4 separate regions of the Homo sapiens genome follow, and all the other regions are linked to region 1. Evidence: promoter capture Hi-C in 16 types of primary human blood cells and fetal thymus (Javierre and others, 2016). All regions are on one chromosome and are shown on one strand. Each heading gives the region's core, a stretch centred on a gene start or on the middle of the fragment in contact. The rest is flanking DNA. Distances are from core to core; before and after follow the strand shown.

The links. Contacts are between HindIII fragments. The CHiCAGO score rates a contact against its expected background, and 5 or more counts as called.
Region 2: a contact is called between a fragment that was not itself captured here and the fragment with the promoter of TRMT10B in region 1, in 2 of 17 cell types (endothelial precursors and M0 macrophages). The highest score is 7.8, in endothelial precursors.
Region 3: a fragment that was not itself captured here is called in contact with the fragment with the promoter of TRMT10B in region 1 in 1 of 17 cell types (M2 macrophages); the score reaches 5.8 in M2 macrophages.
Region 4: a fragment that was not itself captured here is called in contact with the fragment with the promoter of TRMT10B in region 1 in 2 of 17 cell types (M0 macrophages and M2 macrophages); the score reaches 6.3 in M0 macrophages.

Annotation. Positions count from the first base shown.
Region 1 is chr9:37,752,301-37,755,507 of GRCh38, reverse strand. TRMT10B (tRNA methyltransferase 10B) reads right to left here and starts at 1,703. Exons shown (of 9, transcript NM_144964.4): 1 at 1,656-1,703. RefSeq lists a silencer at 1,559-1,793. The HindIII fragment of the contact is 5,639 bases long and covers 304-3,207 here.
Region 2 is chr9:38,385,194-38,388,400 of GRCh38, reverse strand. No RefSeq gene overlaps it. Among named protein-coding and RNA genes, the nearest start is that of ALDH1B1, 5.9 kb to the left of the region's middle. The HindIII fragment of the contact is 5,209 bases long and covers 1-3,207 here.
Region 3 is chr9:38,335,165-38,338,371 of GRCh38, reverse strand. The region is part of intron 1 of LOC107987065 (a long non-coding RNA gene); the gene reads right to left. Among named protein-coding and RNA genes, the nearest start is that of ALDH1B1, 56 kb to the left of the region's middle. The HindIII fragment of the contact is 4,341 bases long and covers 1-3,207 here.
Region 4 is chr9:38,264,943-38,268,149 of GRCh38, reverse strand. No RefSeq gene overlaps it. Among named protein-coding and RNA genes, the nearest start is that of ALDH1B1, 130 kb to the left of the region's middle. The HindIII fragment of the contact is 4,197 bases long and covers 1-3,207 here.

The DNA of each region.
Region 1 (3,207 bases), core at 454-2,953:
AGGTGAAGTTGGACATCACAGAAGCAGAGATCTGCTCAATCTGTGTGGGACATTATCTATGCCCAAATTTAGCATTTTTTTTTGGACATAGGAACTACCATTTTAACCATTTGTAAATGTGCAGTTAAAAACACACCTAAGGGCATCCACATTGTGTGCCACCATCACCACTGTCCAGCTCCAGAGCTTGTTTGTCTTCCTAAAGTGAAACTAACTTTAAAAAAAAAAAAAAAAAAAAAGACGGAGTCTTACTCTGTCGCCCAGGCTGGAGTGCAGTGGCGCGATCTCGACTCACTGCAAGCTTTGCCTCCCAGGTTCACGCATTCTCCTGCCTCAGCTTCCTGAGTAGCTGGGACTACAGGCACCCGCCACCATGTCCGGCTAGATTTTTTTGTATTTTTAGTAGAGACGGAGTTTCACCATTTTAGCCAGGATGGTCTCGATCTCCTGACCTCGCGACCCACCTGTCTGGGCCTCCCAAAGTGCTAGGATTACAGGCGTGAGCCACCACACCCGACCCTGTGACCTTTATATAACTCTCCCTTCCCCAATCCTGGCAGCACCTTTGTATTTCCTATCTTATGAATTTGAGTGCTGCTCTGGTTTGAATGTTTGTCCCCTTCTCACATTCAGGTTGAAACTTAATTGCCATTGTAACAGTATCAAGAAGTGAGATTTCATTTATTTTTCATTTCTTCATTAAACATCTTTTCTGAGCCTCCAATTATGGGTCCGATGCTGAATATTCATTACTTTCGTTCAACAAAGCTACTAAGCACCTGACATAATAGTACATCCTGGGGACTTGGGGATGACATTCGTTCTGCTTTCATGGGGCTCCAATTATCTGACCCTGCCTTGCATGACAGCTGTCTACCTGTTTCCCCACTAGATTATAAACCCAGGGAAGAATTGGAAGAATTCACCTGTACACCCTCAGTACCCGAGCCCTGTGAGCATCCTAAGTATTTGATGATCACCACTCTTCTGCTTAGAACCCTGCAGTACTCTCCATTTCACTGACAGTAAATAGCCCAAATCCATACAATGACCTATGCAGATCACTAAGGTCTACCTTTCTCGTTTCCTCTGCACTCCGGGGTCTATTTGCTGTTCCTCAAACATACCCTTCAAGGCCTTTACATTCGCCGTTCTCTTTACCCTCAATGCTCTTCCCTAAGACACTCACAGACTACCTTCCTCTCCTCATTCATATTACTATCCAACATAACCTATTTTACTTGTTGTCGGAACCTCCTCCATCCCTTCAATGTAGGCAAGTGTTGTTTGCTTATAGATGCTTAATAAATACTTGCTGAGTTCATAAATCCTCCACTCCGCACCCCCACCCTAGGTTGGCAGAGGCCTCAGACCTTTGCTAGCCTAACTCCCACCTGATGGGTACCTACACTGCCGCTAAGTGATGGCACATCGAATTCAGCCTGAGAGCACCCCGCCTGCGGGTCTCTCCCGGCCCACAGGCTGAGCGTGCGAGTGGAAGCAGGAAGGGAAAGTATCAGGAAGGTGGAGTACCACAGGCCACATGACTGCTAAACGCTGCTTTCTCAACGTCCGCCCCACCCGCGAGGGAGGCGGACGTCCCAGGACAGACCCCGCAGCCCCCAGCCAGCCCCCTTAACCAGCGGACAGCGTACCTGATCCCCTCACCCCCACGCAGCGGCAGCGGCGCGCATCGGATCCCCCCCGCCCCCGGCCTCGCTTCCGCTTCGTAACTCCGCTCCGAATGGCATTCTGGAAATTGTAGTTTTTCACCTGCAGGGTGCTCGTGGGGCCGAGCCGGAGCGGAGGCTGCGGCTTCTACTCCCAGCCCTGGCGGTAGGGAGCTGCGTCCTGCTGTGGTGGTTGCCCACCTTCTCTGAACCCCTGTCTCCCCGTCTGCTGGACAGCTATTACAACCCCAACCCTTTACCAACTTCACAGGGCTCCTACAGGTGCTCTGTTGGTTGTCAAGGGCTGGACATTGCGAAACTGGGGTGTGTGAAGCAAAAAAATTCTAAGGCCCGCACCCGACTGAATGGACCTCCCTCTCTGCCGAAGGAAACCTTAAAAACTAGTTATGGCCATTACAGGAAGCGGGAGTGGAGCGGGGCGGTTGGACATGCACTGATATTATATCCCATCCCTTGCGGAGTTTAGGCCCAACGGGGACTGACACAACAGAATCTTTGTAGAACTAAAATATCAAATTCCAACCTGATATCATATTGTGTCCGGAAATGGTGGATTCTTGGTCTCACTGACTTCAAGAATGAAACCGCGGACCATCGCGGTGTTACAATTCTTAAAGACTGCGTGTCTGGAGTTTCTTCCTTCTGGCGGGTTCATGGTCTCGCTAGCTTCAGGAGTGAAGCTGCAGATCTTCGCAATGAGTGTTAAATCTCTTAAGAGGGCACACCTGGAGTTGTTCCTTCGCTCTCGGTGGGTTCGTGGTCACACGGGCCTCAAGAAAGAGCTGCAAATACAGATCTTCACGGCGAGTGTTATAGCTCACAAAGACAGTAGGGACCCAAAGGGTTAGCAAGCAACAAGATTTATTACAAAGAACAAAGCACCCACAGTCCAGAAAGGCAACCCCAACGGGTTGCCGCTGCTTGCTCGGGCAGCCTGTTTTTATTCTCCTATCTGGCCCCACCCACATCCTGCTGATTGGTCCACTTTACAGAGAGCCGATTGGTCTGTTTTACAGAGAGTTGATTGGTCCGTTTTGACAGGGTGCTGATTGGTGCGTTAACAATCCCTGAGCTAGACACAAAAGTTCTCCAAGTCCCCACTAGATTAGCTAGACACAGAGTGTTGATTGGTATATTTACAAACCCTGAGCTAGACACAGAGTGCTGATTGGTGCATTTACAAACCTTGAGCTAGATACAGAGTGCCGATTGGTGCATTCACAATCCCTTAGCTATACATAAAGATTCTCCAAGTCCCCACCAGATTAGCTAGACACAGAGTGCCGATTGGTGCATCCACAAACCCTGAGCTGGACACAGAGTGCTGATTGGTGCATTTACAAACCTTGAGCTAGATACAGAGTGCTCATTGGTGTATTTACAATCCCTTAGCTAAACATAAAGGTTCTCCAAGTCCCCACTGGACTCAGGAGCCCAGCTGGCTTCATCCAGTGGATCCAGCACTGGGGCCGCAGGTGAAGCTACCTGCCAGTCCCTCGCCGTGTGCCCACATTCC
Region 2 (3,207 bases), core at 497-2,996, 630 kb before region 1:
GGAAATACCAACACCACCCTGGGGCCTGAGAGAGAGCCTGGGCTTCACACCTGCCTGTCTCTTCTCCCACTGACAAGGTGACAAGCAGCACAAAATAAAGTAATGCTGCCTTAACTGTCCTAGTGAGGAAGAAGCTCCAGACTAGACACCACAAACTGGTAGCCCAAGTCTCAAGCCAGCATACATGTTCTATTTGGCCCCAGCAGAGTTGTGGGGTTTTTTTTCCCCGTTTTATGCTTTCTAATGCTTAAACATTGAGATATTTGACATTAAAATGTACTTTTCTATTTGTTCTTGAAACATTGGAAGACTTAGTACTATCAGGCCTGCACGTGGATATGGAACAGTGGCTCAACTAGAGATGCACGTAGTAGCTGCCCCCTTTAGGCAGGGCTTTCATTTTCCAGTTTGCCACAGGCCTCACCACTCCCTATTGCTTCACCTTATGTACACTGATTGTGGTAGGCAGAATAATGGCCCCTAAAGACGTCAATGTCCTAACACCTGGTACCTATGAAGACATTACCTTACATGGCAAAAGAGGATATTGTAGTTAATGATCTGGAGGTGGGAGATTATTCTAGATTGTATAGCCAGGGCCTAATGTAATCACAAGGGTCCTTATCGAAGGGAAACAGGAGTCAGAGAAAGAGATGTGGGGATGGAAGCAGAGGTCAGGTGATGCTGTCACAAGACAACAAATGCAAGCAGTTGGAAAAGGCAAGGGACAGGCTTCTCCCCCAGTGTCTCTAGAAGAAACTCGTCCCTGCCAACACCTTGATTTTAGTCCAAGGAGACACTTTGAGTTTCTGACCTCCACCACACTCGGCTAATTTTAAAATTTTTCTTAGAGATAGGGTCTCACCCATATTACCCAGGCTGGTCTCAAACTCCTGGGCTCAATGAATCCTCCCGACTCAGCCTCCCAAAGTGTTGGGATTACAGGCATCAGTCACTATGCCCAGCCTGATACACTTAATAAAGATTAGCACCAAGCTCTGTGGAAACAGAAGAGGCAGCCCTGAGTTCCTCCCCAGACTTCTTGGGAGAAGATGACCTTTCAGCCGAGCCTGTACCAGTTAGAGTTAGATTGGATGCATATGATGAAACAGTGGTTCTCAACTATGCCTGTGGATCAGCACCACCTGGGAGAGTCTTTGGAAACACCTGAGCAACACTCCACATTGCTAGGAGTCCCTGGGTGTTGTTCTGGGTTATCTGGTTTTGTTGTTGTTTTGTTTTGTGTTTAAGCTCTTCCATTGATTCCATTGTGTAGCCAGTTTTGAGAACTACTGACATCAGAGAAAACCCAAAATAAAAGTGGCTTAAACAAGAGAAGTGTACTTTTCTCTCACTTAAAAGAAGTCTAGAGACAGCTGTCCAGGTCTGGGGTAGGAGCTCTGCTCCATCTTCATCCCAGGACCAGAGGATTCTATTAAAGGGTCTTGAGGGAGAAGGAAGGGCGGTTGACACAATCCAGTTTGCAATTTGAAATGATCATTCTGGTTATAGTGTTTTATAGTGTGTGTCTCCTCCAGTTTCCAAGGAGGAAATAAGATTCCAAGTTATGTTACCAAGAACAGCAGGTGTTCATAATTACTTACGCTGGCAGCTGCTGGCACAAAGGGGTTCATTATAATGTCTATTTTTGTGTATATTTAAAATTTCTGGTAATAAAAAGTTAAAAAAAAAAAAAAGATTATGTTACCAAGTCAATAGCAAGTGTCCTCTGGGCTCAAACACTGTGTAATGAATCTGTTCTTTTATGACCTCATGATTGGGCCCGAGGGGTCCATGTCTTTCTCAGAATCCACGGTTAATTATTGAATAGCCCTCACCAAACCTAGTAGAGTTGGTGCAAAGGGCACTGGCAGGCTATCAGAGCCTGGGTGCTGGTTCCAGCCTTTCTGTGTGACCTTGAGCCACCACCTACCTCCCTCTGGGCCTCAGTCATCGCCACTGTAAAAAGAGGGGTATAGGAGGAGAAGGACACAAGGGCCTCTAGGAGACTGAAGCCCCAGAAAGTTGTAGTAAAGCTGTTACATAGTGTTCATTTGTTCATTGGCAGCAGAGTCCTTGGGCCACAAATGTTGGAGCCTAAATGCATGCTATTTGTTAAACCCAGTCAATTGACTTTCCCATCCTGTTATGGCTGGTTATGGGCCACTATAAGGCAATGGTTGAAGTACAAAGTATTGGCAGGGACCCAGTGTATCTTCATACACTTGCTGATGGAGCGAGCCTGAAATGCTGCCCTACCATCCATGACAGCAGGGCAGATCTGCCAAGGAGGGCGCAAAGGCTTTTTGGATCCACAGGGCTGATGCCTAGGTGACCAGAGTATGGGAGCTGCAGTGAGCGCTGATTACCCTTGCTTTCCACTTTGCCTCTCTGTCTCTAGCTAGTTCTTTCTGGTTCAAAGACAGTTTCCCCAGCACAGTCCCTTGTCAGGCCCAGCAGTGTCCACATCAGCAAGCATCTGCCACTCATCATTCCTTCTTTCACTCAGCTCCTGTTACTGCTGACCCACCTATGCCAGGCCCTGCCGTGTGGAGACAAATAAGACATCATACCTGTCCTCTGGCAACTCACAGACTGGGGAGGCAGACAGACATGGAGACTGGCATGTTTCCCTCACACAGTGTGAGAAAGAGAACCCAGAGAGTGGTGCCAAGAGAGCAGAGAAACAGGAAATGGGACAAAACAACTACACAAAGCCTGGGAAGGTCAGGGGAGGCTTCTTGGAGGAGCTGATGCTTGACCTGATTCTTGAAAGCTGAATCAAGGGGAGAAACAGCATTTCTGGAAGACAGAGCTGCATGTGCCAAAGGTCAGAAATGAGAGGGAGCCCTGTGGCTTTGGGTGCAGTAAGAACCTCCTCCTGGCTGGTGCCTGGGCTGTGATGGGATAAGTGGGGGCCATTGAGAGCCAAGTCTGGAGCCATAGATCATGCCAAGATCATGAAAGGCCTGAAGTGCCTTGCTAAGGAGTTTGGATGTATCCTGAGGAGGCACAGAAGTGACACAGGATGCTTCTCAGTCACTTTGCCAGCTGGGACCTCTGGTCAGCGATGTCCCCCTTGCCTGGGCCTCTCTGGGTCCCAGGCCTGCCGTTAGAGACACCCTACCCACTTGTCCCACCTGTGTTATAGCTTGTACCTGTGTTCAGCAGTTCTTGAGCTCTTGTCTCACATCCAAGAAGAATGAG
Region 3 (3,207 bases), core at 376-2,875, 580 kb before region 1:
TTGGCATGCAGTTATAATTCCCAGGTTCCGCCTGGGTTAACAATGGCATGATTTCATTAATTTGCTTGTTTATTTATTCCACACAAACTCTTTTCTAGGGCCCATGCTAGGTTCTGTGGCCCCAAAGCTGAATTAGACACTTTCTCTCGAGGGACTGGACATGTCTGTGGATGCCTCCTGTCCATCGTTTTACAGCATTCTGTGGAGTGCTACTTGACGAGCTACTGGGTATTCCACGGGGAAAGTGGTCCAGGGTTAGCTAAGCATGGAAAGCGCCTAGTTAAACAAAGTTACTTCACTGCAGGACTTCTCAGAGCCGTTGCTATGCTAATGTGTATTACACATTAAATGACCTCAAAGTGTCTGGGCCTCTCTGGGGTTCCTGATGGGCCTGTATGTCCTGACCTGTACTGGGGCTGGTGAGTAGATGTGGGATCCCCTAGAGGTGTGGCAGGGCCAGGGACCTGCTGCGCTTAGGCTTGGAGGGGTCTTCTTCCCCTGGGACCTTCAGGATCTGCAGTGAGACACTGAGGGGACAGTCCTCAAGGGGTGGATTTCACTTTCTGTGGCAGTAAGAGAGCTCAAAGGGTTTAATGCAGAGGTCCCCTGGTTCCATTTGCATTTGAGAAATATGACCGTGCTGGGGACGGGGAGGAGGGATCCACATCGGAGAATGGAGAACTGTCAGTGTCCCGTGCAACAGGAATGCTGAAACCTACTCCCATGCCAGTTTCTGTTTCTGGATTTTATTACCAAGAAAGGGTGAGAAAGCAATTTCTGTATTCAAACAGGGCTTGATCTCTTTCCTACAGCACATAAGCCACTGATCCACCAAGGAGCTTGAGGAAGCCTCAGACAGAAGGCCTTAGTTACGTTAACTGCTGCTTTTACAACCGAGGCTGGCTCTGACTTCTATGAATAAAATTTAGAGGTTCAGGACAGATCTGAAAACCAATCTCTCCCTTTTTCTCTTCTCAACTCTCCCCACTCATTGTCTGAGGCTGGCGCGCGTGCTCTTTTCTCTTTCTCTCTCCCCACCCCCTTTCTTGCTATCCTGCTGGCTCTCTCTCCTTCTGCCATCTATGAAGTCAGTCCAGTTTGGGACTCGATATCTCTTTGTTCTGGAAATCCCCACAGCAAAAGGAGAATGAATTGCCCTTGGTCCAGGATAATCTTTTGCCGAATTAAGATGGAAGCACATTCATGAAAAACCACAACACAAAACAAAACAAAAAATCCCAACTTCCCTGAAAACATAATTCACAGAGATCATGTCCAAGAATAACTTCTTGAACTAATCAAAACTGATTCCAAAATTGCCTCCGAAGTATCTCTGATGGCTACGTTCAGTTCAGTTTCAGATACAGGGGTCTTACGTCCACAGTGGAAAGGGTGAGAAAGTCTCACTTTCTTGATAAACCAAGTCATATTTAAGAAAGGCCTGGGAATATGAAAGTTTACTTTAGAAGAATCAGAAAAAGCTGGACGCAAGGCAGGGGCAGCATTTTAAAATGTCTATGTGAATCCCCCACAGCGCGTGCCGCACCATTGATGTATTCACGCGGAGCTCTCATTCATTTAATCCTCCTCATTACCTATGTTCTGTGGTCCGGGGAAGTCAAGCACTTTCCCGAGGCCACACAGGCAAGAAAGGACAGCTCTGGAGTGAAATGCTGGTGTACCAGGTTTAGGCCAGTCCATGCTGTGTCTGGGATGGATCTCGAAGGGTCTGTGCATCTGGGGGATAGCAGGAGAGAGAGGTTTTCGATTTGCTGGAGCAGCAGGAGGCGCCTGCTGGCCTGTCTCTGTGACAGAAGGGAACGGGACTCTCCCCACAGACGGGCCTTGGGGATTTCTCCCCCTCACTCTGTCCTCAGTCCCTCCCTTTGGCAGCCCTGGGTCTGTCAGTTTGCAGGGGATACACCAGCCAGCAATCCCAAGTCATGCTCCCAGGCCAGGAAAAACATAACAGGAAACCTCCTCCCGGTCTACAGGACAGGTTCCCCAGACTTCAGCAGACCCACGGAAATCTGCTTGCATGGATCTGTAGTACGCAATGACAGCCTGCTTGGCCATAAGATTCAAGGCTCACATTTCTCAGGTGACTGGAGGGGGTTCTAACTCATGGGGGACTCTGGCTTCCATCTGGCCAAGACTACAAAGAGCATCTCTTCCCATGTTGATGTGGCTGCCTCTTGCTTTGAGTCTCATCCTGTCTTTGGTCTGTATGCGAAAGGCAGGTTTGAGCCTGCAGGAACAGCAAACAGGAATCCTTTCTCTTCTTCGGGGTTTAAACAATTACCGATCCCACCCAAAAACAGACTTGGAGCTGTCCCTAACCTTCCTACAACAGAGACAAAGGAAATAGATTGCCTTTGTATACATTAAAACATGGAGTCTAGAACAATGGAGGTCAAGGCTCCACCTTGGCCACAGCTAGGATGTCCTGATCCAAGTAAAACCAGCACCAAATGTATCCTCATGGCTGGTGGGTAATTGTTTAAACAGGAGCCATGCTGCTAAAACACCTGCTCACCCAAGCAGTTTCCAAGGTCACAGCTACTATACTTTTGTGATTATTTATCTAATCCCACCTTTCCCAAAGCATCTTTCCCTATAGGATGTTAGTAGGTGTTGTATGGGGAGAAAGGTTTCTACAGTAAAATAAAGTTGGGGGAATAGCTGTATTCAAGAAAATTAATTAGGTTTAACTTAAAGGCTTTTCAGAGCCTTTAATATGCTAATGTGCTTTATGCATCTCTAATGGGGGAGTAGGCAGTATCCTCCCCCCACCCCGCCCCAAATTGTTGACCATAAATCCGTTTTTACTCCAGAACACCTCAGGGGACAAGGGCTTCGTGAAGTACATTGTTGGAAAGTAGTTCTTATTTTATACCCTGGCTATACTTTTCTCAGGATTGGTACTAACCACAGAATGGAAAAGGAGGACATTAGAGAATGAGGCTGAAGGGAGCATGGTGGCTGGACACCTCCAGACAGCTGAGAGGTTCCTAATGGCCAGGGCAGGAAGGGAGACACTGGGCCACCCTCACAGCTATTGTTTTGTGTTTCTTGAGATGTTTTCACCCCAGCTCCTTCTTCTGCCCCTAACCTGAGTTGCATATCACTTAATATTAGATTTGGTTGCAAATAGAGCCTCCATAATAGTGGCTAAACCAAGATAAAGGTATATTTTTCTCTCACATA
Region 4 (3,207 bases), core at 449-2,948, 510 kb before region 1:
TTTTTTTTTTTTTTTGTAGAGTTGAAGTTTTGCCATGTTGCCCAGGCTGGTCTCAAACTCCCGGGCTCAAGATATCTGCCTGCATTGGTCTCCCAAAGTGCTGGGATTACAGGTGTGAGCCACTGCACCCAGACAAGTTTCATTCTTATGCATATAGTTATCCAGTTTTCCCAGCCTCATATATTGAAAAGATATTTATTGCATGTTCTTGACTGACAATGCATGGATTTATATCTGGGTGCTCTGATCTGTTCCATGTATGTATCTGTACCTATCTGTATAGCCAGTACCATGCTAATTTGGTCACTATAGCTTTGCAGTAAGTTTTTTGTTTGTTTTTGAGACAGAGTTTGGCTCTGTTGCCCAGGCTGGAGTACAGTGGTATGATCTCGGCTCACTGCAACCTCCGCCTCCAGGGTTCAAGCAATTCTTCTGCCTCAGTCTCCTGAGTAACTGGGATTACAGGCACGCACCACCATGCCCGGCTAATTTTCGTATTTTTAGTAGAGACAGGGTTTTGCCATGTTGGCCAGACTGGTCTTGAACTCCTGACCTCAGGTGATCTGCCCACCTTGGCTTCCCAAAGTGCAGGGATTAAAGGCGTGAGCCACCCTGCCCAGCCTGCAGTAAGTTTTGAAGTCAGGTAGTGTGAGGCCTCCAGCTTTGTTCTTTTTGCTCAGAATTGTTTAGGCTATTCAGGGTCTTTTGAATTTCCATATAGATTTTAGGATTTTTTTTCCTATTTCTTGAAGAATGTCATTAGTATTTTGATAAGCATTGCATTGAATCTGTAAATTGCTTTGGGTAGTATTGTCATTTCAATACAGATTCTTCCAATCCATGAGCATGGAATATTTTGCCATTTTTTGGTGTCCTCTTCAATTTCTTTCATCAGTGTTTTATAGTTTTCCTTGTATAGATGTTTCAGTTCTTTGGCTAAATTGATTTCTGCGTATTTTATATTCTTTATAGCTATTGTAAACAGATTTCTCAATTTTTCTCAGATTATTCACTGTTGGCATATATAAATGCTACTGAATTTTGTATGCTGATTTTGTATCCTGCAACATTACTGAATTCATTTATCAGTTCTAACAGTTTTTTTGGTGGAGTCCTTAGGTTTTTCTAAATATAAGATCCTGTTGTCTGAGAGCAAGGCTAATCTGACTTCTTCCTTTCCAATTGGGATGCCCTTTATTTCTTTCTCTTGCCTACTTGCTCTGGCCAGGACTTCCAGTATTACGTTGAATAAAAGTGGTAAAAAATAGGCATCTTTGTCTTGTTCCAGATCTCAGAGGAAAGGCCTTCAATTTTTCCCTGTTCAGAACAATGTTGGCTATGGATTTGTTATATATGACCTTTATTATTTTGAGGTATATTCCTTCCATTCCCAGTTTGATGAAGGTCTTTATCATAAATGGATGTTGAATTTTATCAAATGCCTTTCTGGCATCTATTGAAATAGTCATATGTTTTTCATTCTTAGTTCTTGGTTCTGTGAATGTCATGTATTATGTTTATTGATTTGTGTATGTTGAACCATCCTTGCATACCGGGGATAAATCCCACTTGATCATGGTTAATGATCTCTTTAGTGTGTTGTAGAATTTGGTTTGCTAGTATTTTATTGGGAATTTTTGCATCTTGGTTCATCAGAAATATTGGCCTACAGTTTTCTTTTCTTGCTGTATCCTTGTCTGGTTTTGATATCAGGGTAATGCTGGCCTCATAGATAGAATGAGTTTGGAAGTATTCCTCCTCTATTTTTTTGAAGAGTTTGAGTAGAATTGGCATTAATTCTTCGGCTTTGTTTATTTTTGTTTTTTAAGAGACAGTCTCACTCTGTCACCCAGGCTGGAGTGCAGTAGTGTAATCTTACCTCACTGAAGCCTTGAACTCCTGGGCTCAAGTGATCCTCCCATCTCAACCTCCTAAGTACCTAGAACTACAGGCATGCACCACCGTACCCAGCTAATTTAAAAAATTTATTGTAGAGAATCTGAATGATCTTTCCATCACTGAGAGTGGGGTGTTAAAGTCCCCTACTATTATTGTATTGCAATCTATCTCTTGCTTTAGATTGCTTTTCATATTTGGGATCTCTGGTGTTGAGTGCCTACATATTTAAAATTGTTACATCTGCTTGAGAAACTGACCCCTTTATCATTATATAGTGACTTTCTTTGTCTCTTTTTACAATCTTTGACTGACTTGTAGTCTATTTATCTAACTATAGCTATAGCTACTTCTGCTTTTTTTTTTTTTTTTTTGGTTCCAGTTGTACGGACTCTTTTTTTACCCCTTCATTTTCAGTCTATCTTTACAGGTGGGTTTCTTGTAGGCAGCATATAGTTGGATCTCATTTCTATCCATTCAGCCACTCTCTTCCTTTTAATTGGAGAATTGAGTTCCTTTATATTTAGTACTATTATTGACAACTAAGGACTCACTACTGTCATTCTGTTGCTTGTTTTCTGATTGTTTTGTAACTCTTCTCTTCCTTTCTTCATTTCTTACTGCCTTACTTTGTGGTTCAGTGATCTTCTCTGGCAGTATGTTTTAATTTGTTTTTGTTGGTTTTTTTGGAGACAGAGTCTTGCTCTGTCTCCTAGGCTGGAGTACAGTGGTGCAATCTCAACTCATTGCAACCCCTGCCTCCCAGGTCCAAGTGATTCTCCTGCCTCAGCCTCCCAAGTACCTGGGATTACAGGCACCTGCCACCACATCTGGCTAATTTTTGTATTTTTAGTACAGACAGGGTTTTGCCATGTTGGCCAGGCTGGTCTTGAACTCCTGAGCTCAGGTGATCCACCCACCTCGGCCTCCCAAAGTGCTGGGATCACAAGTGTGAGCCACCACGCTCAGCCTAATTTGTCATTTTTTATTTTTAGTGAACTCACTATAGGGTTTGCATTGTGATTACCATGCGGTTTACAAAAAAAAAACTTATAGATGTAACATTATTTTAAAGAGAAGATATCTTATTTTAGATCACATAGAATAGAAACAAAGAAAAAATGAAAATAAAAGTTTACATTGTAACTCCATCGCCTCCACATTTTGACTGTTAGTTGTTTCAATTTACATATTTTTATATTACCTGTCTCTTAACAGGTTGTTGTAGCTATTATTGTTTTTGACAGATTTATATTTTGGGTTTCATACTAGAGTTATAAGTGCATTTCATACCACAATTACAATATTAGA